Linked DNA regions of Homo sapiens: region 2 is linked to region 1. Evidence: promoter capture Hi-C in human tissues and cell types (Jung and others, 2019). All regions are on one chromosome and are shown on one strand. Each heading gives the region's core, a stretch centred on a gene start or on the middle of the fragment in contact. The rest is flanking DNA. Distances are from core to core; before and after follow the strand shown.

Evidence for each region. Contacts are between HindIII fragments. The study calls those that stand out against the background at their distance.
Region 2: a fragment that was not itself captured here is called in contact with the fragment with the promoter of LIN28B in region 1 in 1 of the 25 tissues and cell types used here (spleen).

Annotation. Positions count from the first base shown.
Region 1 is chr6:104,954,881-104,959,997 of GRCh38, reverse strand. LIN28B (lin-28 RNA binding posttranscriptional regulator B) reads right to left here and starts at 2,891. Exons shown (of 4, transcript NM_001004317.4): 1 at 2,738-2,891; 2 at 1,712-1,899. The coding sequence starts at 2,747. RefSeq lists enhancers at 2,003-2,940, 2,941-3,878. The HindIII fragment of the contact is 4,416 bases long and covers 1-3,683 here.
Region 2 is chr6:105,381,707-105,387,133 of GRCh38, reverse strand. The region is part of intron 2 of PREP (prolyl endopeptidase); the gene reads left to right. Among named protein-coding and RNA genes, the nearest start is that of PREP, 19 kb to the left of the region's middle. The HindIII fragment of the contact is 3,654 bases long and covers 1,958-5,427 here.

The DNA.
Region 1 (5,117 bases), core at 1,642-4,141:
AGTATAAACACAAATGTCTTGTTGTTCTAAACATTAACATTGGTTAATAAAATATCTTAACATTTGATGAATATTTTAGAAGGTAAACATAGAAAATCAAATTATAAAAAGGCGTGACCAGACAAAGAAGGGTTATTTTTTTCATTCATCTATAAAACAAATTTATGAGATCATAAAAAACAATTTAACAACCTAAAGAAGGTTCAAAGGTGGAAGAAAGAGCCTGAGAGAAAATGGATTTGTCTATGATTTTTGTCATCCAGTCTTAGAGGGGAAAAAACAGAAAATGTAGCTTCATTTTGCACTATAAAATAGGAAGCATAAAATCCAGTAGTCTGTATGTGGACTTGTATTTGTGTACTTAAACCCTGTTTCAATTCACAGATTATGCTGATCCTTCCACATATAAACAGCCAATAATGATGGCCAGGCCTTCAGGAAAGGAAAACACACACCACACAGCAAGGTCAGGAAGCTACCAAGCACCACAGGACAACAGATCAAAACAGAATGGTTTCATATGTTTCTATTGTTTATATATTTAATTTGAAGATGATATTCCTTAGGGAAGGGGGTATAAATATTACTAGGAACATGCAACACAGTATCAAATATATACTTTTCAAGCAAATATACCAAATATTTCACCCATGTATCTGTCAGTCAATCTGTAGTATTAACAGCCTTTCATTCAATTCTTTTTAACTTAGATTATCATGCCAAAATAAACCTCTTTAGTCGTAAACCTCTTTATTTCTAACTACAGAAAATTTATATTTACCTTTTTTTGAGGAAACAACCGGCTTCCATAAAAGTATCTTTTTTACTATAAAGGGATTAAGCAGTAGAGAGGAGTAAAGGCAGAAGTATTAATTCATTATTTCCTGGGTAAAATTTTGAAAATGGGAAGCAATGAAATTCTGTTTGGTATTAAAACATCTTTAAAAATTACAACACAATACGAGCAAAGGTGGAAATTTACCCCAAGTAGCAGACCAGCACATTTTAAACACACAAGCAAGAGCCGCCTCTGGCCACATGTTTTTTTGAGTTCAGTCTCTTAAAGAGACAGTATACGTAGACCAATGACTACACGGAGCACATTTCTAAAATGTTTATCAAGCATCCCTCTATTGCACGCATTTCTTTACAACCACATTAGGCCAACAGTGTTCTATTTTATTTTACTATGAAGTCAAATTATTTTGATCTGAATCTACAAAATGATTACAGGACAGGCAGCGATGAAATAATAAAGGGAGCTACTGTGACTAGAGGTGTCTAAAATAAGGCAATCTATACATTTCTTTCCACAGCAAACTGTTTCGCTTTGTTTTTTCAACCTTAAAATGATCATGTTTCTTCATTTTTCTACCCATTCACCAGATACAGGCGACAAAGTATATTGTATAGGTAATACCGGAAACAACAAGAACACTATTTCGCTGTAGAATGAAGCAGGGGGAAATGCTAATAACGTCAACCTTAATATATATAGTGAAATTTCAAATATTTTCTTTTCTCTTTAGACAGAAAACCCAGGAAAAGGCCCATACACGTACCCTAAACGTTGGACTACCTAGTGATTTCAGGGAAGATTTTGTCTTTCAATATACCGAAGGACATCTTATCGTACGTCTATTGGCATAACTACCGATCAGCTCCTCCACATGGAAAAAGATGAAGAGGGGGACAAAAAAGTTTGGCTTACTTGGTGTACAAATACATCGACTGGAATATCCAAGGGGCTTCCCTCTCGGTTTATCATGGAGATGAATCCAAATCCCATGCGCACATTGAACCACTTACAGTGGCCAGTTCCGCGCAAAACCTGGGATTCCTCCTCTGCCGGCTCCGGCAGCTTCCCGGGCTCTTCTCCACCACCTTTGCTAGCCCCGCCTGAGAAGGAACAGGACAAAAAAGTCAGTCTGTATTCCCATTCAATGTGCATTCAAAGATTAAAAAAAAAAAATTGCCTGCCTGGGGTTGGGGGGGAAGGGTAACAGAAAAAAAAAATTTTTTTTAATGGTTTGATTTCTTTTCTCCACAGAAAATACTTAAAATGAAAAGGGTTAAAAGGAAAGCGGGGGAGGGGGAAGCCACACTGTTCTATCGATCACACCAACTTCCACGTTTCTATACATACGTGTACTTATTCATTTAACTCCATTTTTCAGCCACATTTTACATTACAGCATGCGATACTTTACTTGTATATTGCTGATTTAATACTGATCCCATTGACAAAGAGAAATTTTCAGCGAAACTATTCTCTCCGGCGGGCACGAGGAGGAAAGAGAAATCGTGAAGATGGTTTAGAGCTACTAGTTAAGGCACATGGGGCAGCACTGAATCCAGCGTTATTTGCAATGTGCATTCCCCTCCCCCCCATAACTTTCAATTAAAGTTGGGGTGGAATGGGGGAGGGGGCAGGTGTATAAAAGTTTTCTTGGAATCACTAACTGAAACTGCGCTTAATCACACTCACACAATTCAAACAATAGCCCCCTGAAAGCTTTTCAAGTTGTGAATCAGTGTGGGCGGTACAAAACATTTTTGGAGATCTATAACAATAGGTTTGCAGAAAGCCCCACTGCGTGATGGGGGGTTGGGAGGTAATGCCCAGTATTGGGGTAAAAGGGGAAGGGGGGGACGGTCTAAGAAGGGTGGGAGAGGGGGAGGGGGAGGAGAAAAGAAGAAAGAAATTCACAGTAAAACAATAGAAAAGAAAATTAACCTTCGGCCATGTTGCCCCACGGGCCCTCAGCTCCAAACTCGTGAGATGAAAACTTTCCCTTTGGAACGGAGTGATCTTCTGCATCAATCTAACATCTTGATTTTGTGCGATCACAAATTTAGCTCGCATGGTCTAATGTGCTTTCCTTCTTTTGATTTTTTTCTCTCCTCTCTCCAGTTTCTGGCCCCCTGAGCACACGTGACTTTGTCAATTACATGCTTTCTTGCTACTAATTTCACCTCGTATCCTTAAGGGGCTGGCAAGAGGAAGAGATAACCAATCGCCATTTCATCTATGCTGACATCAAAATAATTTATGAATGAACACGAAAAACTCAAACATGTTATCTTAAAGACAATTTGGAACGCTTCTTTAGGATAAATCAGAATGCTGATTTCGTGCTTCTACTTAAACACAATGGAGGGACCTTGTGAATCATAGATTTAGAAAAAAAGGCAGTCATATATGTGCACACGCGTGCCTTACACACAAGCCTGACTAAAATCATGGGAGGGGGTCGTTTAAATAAAACAACCGATGTTAACGCTTTTTTTCCCCTTAAGAATTCAGCTATTCCATGGCAGTAAACCTGCTTGGAACGCTAATTTCATATTTAATTCAATTCTTAGAGGAAAATATATAATTTATAAAAGATCTAATTAAACCTAATTACATCCCCATGAAACTTTAGATAATGAAAACATACACCTAGGAAAAGGCAGAGGCACATAAATTACCTGATTATGCCCGAAATTTTTTCAAATTTAAAATAAAATCCTACTAGAAAAATCGTTTTCACCTTCATATAGTCAAATTGTGTTTAGGTAAACCATTTTGGAAAATTTTAGAGGGGGTTGGTAAGGAATTGTACTTCACAGGTTTCTCTGCCATCTCTTTCCGGGGGAGGAGATGTGATTAATGACTTCCTAAATAACAGCCCAGTTTTCCAGCCTAACATAGAGTGAACCTCAATCAGTGGCGATTGTTCCCCAAGAGCTGGAGGACATAGGGCAGGAGGGGGAGGGGATCGCCAGGCAGGGGAGGTGAAGAGGAGCCGCCAGGATAGGCGGCAGCAGAGTCAAAGAAAGAGGTGGGAGAGAAAAAAAGCCGGCGCGGGCAGGGGGTGGGGTGGAGAAAGAAGGACAAGTGGGAGAAAAAAGGTAAATTCATATCATATTGACTTGTACCCTGACATTTTAAAAGTCCACTACCAATGGCTAGAAGAGTTGAATAAACGAAAATGTAACAACGGATGAAGCTCCTACTGTCCTTCCTCAACTGACCCCCAGTTTCAAAATGCCTACCCCCTTTACCTTTCAAACTGGTTCAAACGATTGATTACAAGATGCTGGCAACAGTATTTCTGCCCTTATCGAATACTATAATAAATATTATAGATTAACTAAAAAGACTTTATTTCCTTTAAAATATAAAATATCGCTATTTTAAAACCTTAAAATGCACCACCAGACTTGCCTACCCCACCCCCCATTTTCTTAAACAAGCAGTTTACCAAGAAACTAACTGTTCAGATACCACTTCCTTCGACAAAGCTACCGAGTTGACCCTCCCCCACCATGCCAGCAATCCCCCTCCCAGTCTCTTCAAACACATCCACACTCCAGCACTGTTTCACACAAGCTAAAATGTAGGGATTATGAATCGAAGAGCTATGGAAAAAGCTGTATACACCTATTTATACTCCCTCCCCATATTAAACAACTAAATATAAATTTAATTGGCTCAGATTGGAAAATGGATGTATAAAAAATAGAAGTTATTTTCAGCTGTTTTTGATAAAAGGTTTAATGAAAACTAATCAATTTGGAAAGATTTTTTTTTTTGTCTGTTATTCCTTTTGTTATTTCTCAGGAAAAAGGGCTACTTTCTCATTTTATTTATTTTGGGAGGAATAATCCTGTGCCAGCTGTTAGGGAGAAAAGAAAAGGTGCAAAAATCCAATGACTTTGAAAGTTTAACAAAAGCTCAAAGCTCTGAAAAAATTATTTACTAACAAAACATTTACTAGGCATTATTTTGATGGTAGAAATTACTTCTATTATACTGATTACACTGACAAGAAAGTAATCTCAATGATGGCATTACAGGCTAAGCTTGTGACATAATATGAAATCGAGAAAGTAATTTATATTTTTTCATATTTTAATAATCACTTTAAAAAATCAACATCTGGTATAAGAGGAAAAAAATCTCAGAAAGTATTCATGTAAATTGAGGTGAAATGCTATTACTTACATAAAAGTAATGATCACAAAATTCACAGGCCAGTATAGTTTAGCTTTGTAAAATATTCATTTAAGTTTGCTTTTAATTAGAAAACAGTTTAATCATTATAAAACCAGAAGCATAATAATGTAGG
Region 2 (5,427 bases), core at 2,535-5,034, 430 kb before region 1:
TCTCATGTCTCAGCCTCCTGAGTAGCATGAGTAGGTGGGACTACAGGCATCCGCCTCCACACCTGGCTAATTTTTGTATTTTTAGTAGAGACGGGGTTTCACCATGTTGGCCAAGCTGGTCTTAAACTCTTGACCTCAAGTGATCCGCCCACCTTGGCCTCCCAAAGTGTTGGGATTACAGGCATGAAACACCGCACCCGGCCTTAGCTTCTTTTTTTCCCCCACCATGTTTAGGTGCCTAATTCACCATCCCATTCTGCCATGTTCAGGGGAGAAAGTGCTTAGCCATAAAAATCACTGGGGCACTTGTTAAAAATACAAATGCTGAAGCTTCAGTCTGGAGCATTGGATTTCAGTATAAATCTGTTTTCCAAGACCCCTATTCCTCACCCTCAGGTAATTCTTCAGACCCAGAAAGTTTGGGAAAACTGCCCTAGGGAATACTTAGATTACTTGATTAAAGAACAATTATAATACCTTTCATTTTTTTTAGGGCCTATTCATAAGCAGCTAAGTTCTAATAGATGCCTCACTGTTGTTTATAGCATCTTTGTAAATTAGTGTTAATGGTTCCAATTTTTTTCATTGGGGGAAATCAAGGCATGTGACAAAATTTCTGGGACTCTTCCAGATCCTCTGACCATTTGAATCAGCTCTTCATTTAATCATATACATGACTCTCTGGAGCTCCAGTTGTACCTCCATAAAATCTCATGACTTTCTACTTGCGCTCTTGTCTGTGCCAACACCTCCCTGGGTCTCTCATACATTGCCACTGAGCTAGATGTTCAGTAACTTCCTAACTTGTCTCTTTTCTTCCAGACTTTTCTTTTTACTCTGCTCCCTCTAGCAACTAATGAGAACCCTTAGCAATGTTGGAACCTCTGCCTGTTCATAGGAAGGCAGTGCGTATAGTTGTTAAATGAGCAACTTTAGAGGTAGAAAGGCAGGATTGAATCTTAGCTCCACAATTTTATTAGACATTGGTCATGTTGGTTTTTTTCTTTCTTTCTTTGAGATGGAGTCTTGCTCTGTCACCAGGCTGGAGTGCAATGGTGCTATCTCGGCTCACTGCAATCTCTGACTCCCTGGTTCAGGCAATTCTCCTGCCTCAGCCTCCCGAGTAGCTGGGATTACAGGCATGCGCCACCACGCCCAGCTAATCTTTGTATTTTTAGTAGAGGTGGGGTTTCACCATGTTGGCCAGGCTGGTCTCGATCTCCTGACCTCGTGATCTGCCTGCCTTGGCCTCCTAAAGTGCTGGGATTACAGATGTGAGCCACCACACCCAGTCTGACAATTGGTCGTGTTTTTTAGCCTCATTTTTCTGACTTGTAATTTGGAGAAAACCACCTCATATAATTGTTAACATTAAATGATAGTGTTTTTGAGCCATTTAGCAAAGTAGCAGGCACATAGTAAGTGCTTAATAAATGCTCACCATTGCACTCATTATTGAGCCATTTAAATAATATGGAAATTATGGTTTTTGATAATTTGAAAAACTTCATCCTTAGAGTTATCTGGGACAAGTTCTTTTATTGCAATTAATTCTTGGGTTTTTTCCCCCCATTTTGTTTCACAGTCATTGCTCTGTTCAGTTCTGCTTTCTTTTTGGATCAATTTTAGTCCTTTGTATTTCTTAGTAAATTATTCATTTCATTGAGATTTAAAAATTACTAGCATGAAGTTATGTGTAATATGCTTTTTAAATGACTTTATTCTCCCAATCCGTGGTTATATTTGTTTATAATTTCTAAATTTGAGTATCTGTAGCATCATCTTTGCTTGATTAGTTTAGCCAGAGCTTTGGCTAAATGTGCTTTTTTTCTTTTTTTTTTTTTTTTTTTAAAGCAGATCTAGGAAGTCTAAGTTTCATGCTTAAAAGCTTCTAGTTCATTGATTTCTTATTTTCTCTTGTTATTTTAAAATTTTTTATTTTAATGCTTAAAGTTTATTCTTTCTCATAAAACACCTTTATTGTAGAGAACTTGCTCAGTCATCCCCAGCCAGCCCTGGAGCAAGCTTCTGGTCAGCTCTCCTCTTTCCAGCCTGCTCATGGTCATCCAGTCTCATCTCGTTCAGAAAACCAGAGGCTTCCAAGGAAAGCTGTGTTAGGACACTTTATTACTGGTACCTGAATCCCAACTCAGACCAGCTCACATAAAAAGAGGAGCTGAGTGGCTCACGTTATTGGGGTTCAGGGTATAAGTGCCTTTAGGCACAGTCTGATCCAGGAGTGCATGTGGTATTTTTGGGAACCTGTCTTTTTCTCTTAGGTCATCTGCTTTTCTCTGATAATTTTATTTTTCCAGCAGCCACTCCTGTGTGGCAGAGAAAGATGGGTCTTGTCTCTTTGGGTTTCTCACAGTCCTTGTAGCCCCAAGTGTCTTAAGTTGAGATAACTTCTCCCTTCAAATACTCATCTCTGTCCCTAAAAAAGGATTCTGATTGTTTTGCCTGGGTTTACTACTATTACTATTTTGTTGACTATTGCCTGTGGGTTAGAATTGATGGAAAGACTTTGCTTATGAAAATGAACAGGGTTTACTTATATAAACAACGTGGAAGGGAGTTAGCATAGTTAGAATACAGACAGAGGTGTCTGTCACATTATCTATGACAGATGGAGGTACAAGCGAGCGGTACCAAGAATCCTCACTGAGAATGCTCAATTGCAGATGATACGATCTGATGGAGAAAGAGGGTAAACCTCAAACTTTCTGAAGGTATAACTGTCACCGTTCCAGCCAGATGTTCCTCATCAGTCACAGTGTGATCACTGCCCTTCGGTACCTGGCATAACCAAGCATGAGCACTCAGTCTCCCAAGCCTGCTTCCTGTACACTCCTGAATTCAGTAGTGCAGGACTGGAAGAGGCTGGCTCCCTGATGGGTGAGTCATGCCAGCAAGCCCTGAGATGAGCCGCAGCCTCACCTGCTTGAGGTCCTGCCCAGCCGTGGTCTGGGGGAGGGACATTCTGATTGGCCAGCAGCGGTCACACCCTTTCCCCAACTATCAGTGGGACTTCATATGGCACCAGAAAGAAATAGATGTCAACTCCAACAGTGTTTGCCACATCCCATGAAACTTAATGTGTGATAGTCTTGTTTTTCTTATTTCTTCGTATTTTCTAAGTAATCTTGTTACAGTTTGGATTTCCTCATTGATACAGAATTATTCAGGAGAGGGAGGATATGAGTGTGTTTAATGTCCTCACGATCAGATATTTAGTTAGGTTTGGATTTGAGGTGCAAATCACCTCTTCACCAGGTTTTTGGTCAGGAAAGTATACACCAAAGAATGGAGCCTAATGGGGTTAAAATTTCAGTTTTCCCTGGTCATGACGAGTATTGAGAACAAGGCTTGAATATCAGGTCGGAGTGACGGTTTCTGCTTCCTCCCTAATTGATAGTAACTAGTCCCAGTGAGGGAACGAGTTGATTTACCCACACGGGGACAAGCAGAGAGGTGGAAAGAGGCCTGACAGGCTTCTAGAAGGCTCCGCCTAGTCTGCTGATCATGTGCAGCAGGAAGCTTACTATGAGCCCTTTTCACCCAAGAGCAGATGGTCCCAGAGAGAAGAGATGGGCCCACTCTGGGTTTTTTATGTTAAAGTTGAGCCCAAAAGATTTTGGGCTCTCACTGATTGAACTAGAATATTTCTCCACCTTGAGAATGAGTAGGGGGTTGCTTGTGGGCCAGGAAAAGAAAGCACTTCATGTGGTGAGGTTAATGGCATTGTGGTCAAAACTGTGACCTGAACAAGCTTTTCTTTCTGGGGCTTAAGATTCCCCCTTTGTTGTCTGATGGGCTGCTGATTTTTGTAAATATTGAGTAAGTCCTGGAAAATTACGAGCACTCTTTTTTTTTTTTTTTTAATGGTAGAGATTCCTTGGCATAGATATTAGCCTTGGAAAGTACATTATTCCAATCTTTTATTGTTTCCATTTCTGGACGTGTTTCCTGAAAAGCAGCTGCATCTAATTCTCTTTTGTGCATGACCTACCTTGACTGTCCTGCCCTCCTGGCCCTAAGTCCTACAGCCTCAGGGTGAGCGCCTCTTGGCTGCTTTTTGATGGGGCTGTCCCTGTACTTGGAGAGTCATTTCCAAATTCCAAATTCTGCTAAAGTGAGAGGGGATCCAAGTGTGCCGCCCATGCCTTTCACTTAGGCTGGGATTATGGTTTTTGCCACTTTCTCCAGAAGCCCCTGATAGTTGCTTAACCAAGTCCTATATCTGTTATTTGTAACAGATGCTCCTCAAAGCCTGTGGGATGTAGATAGCACCACTCTTAGTTTTCATTGGTATTTCAGAAGAGGGGAGGTTGATACCCGGGCCTGAGCCAGTCTCTACCTGGAAGTCCCTCCTGGTCGTCTTGCCTGCCTGCCAATGGCACTTGCCCCAGCCCACCCTGCCCTGCCCTGGAAGTAGCTTCCCCTTTATTTGTTCTCCTCTAGCACATATCTTTATCTTTCATTCATCTTGTTAATCACCATGGTGCACATTGTAGTGTTTTGTATAAATATTTATTTAATGAGTAATTCTAGGCATAATTTTTATTCATTTATGTAAGAATTGTAAAAAGATGAGTTTTTTTTAAGTGAACAGTATTTTTAATTTACACTTCCATTTAGAAAGGGAAAAGTTAAGGCAATCAGTAAGTGAGCCTGTATCTGTATTTCGTAAGTCAATTTTTCAAATTGACAGGTGAAAATTGTATATATTTAGGTGTGTAGCACGTCATTTTGATATATGTAGAAATTGTGAAATGGCTAAATCAAGCTATTTAACATATGTGTAATTACCTCACATACTTTGTGTGTGTGTGTGTGTGTGTGTGTGTGTGTGTGTGTGTGTGTTGAGAACGCTTAAAATCCCTCTTAGCAATTTTCAGGCAGTTACCATGTTGTACAATAGATCTCTTGAACTTATTTCTCCTGTCTAACTGAAACTCTGTGTCCTTTTACCAACATCTCCCCCAACCCCCGCCTCTGGTAAACACCATTTTACTGCTTCTGTGAGTTTGACTCCTTTAAATAAAACATATAAGTGAGAGCATGAGGTATTCATCTTTCCGTGCCTGGCTTATTTCGTAGGACTGCAGTATTTTGTGTATTAAAATAGAGTACATGAGGGCACTTTGAAAAAAATTTTCTGAAGACATTAGGAGTAAAGGAATCTCAGCTCCCAAATTAAGCCACCCCTTTCCAAATAGCTTTTCTTTTTCTTTTTTAAATTGCAGTACGAACACTTCACATGACAGCTACCCTTGTAACAGATTTTTCTGTGCACAATATAGTATTGCTAACTATAGGTACAGTGTTGTACAGCAGATCTCTAGAACTTAATGATCTTGCATAACTGAAGCTTTGCTTTGCTTTTAAGCTTTCTAATAGTCAAGGCACATGAGATATAAGTAAGAT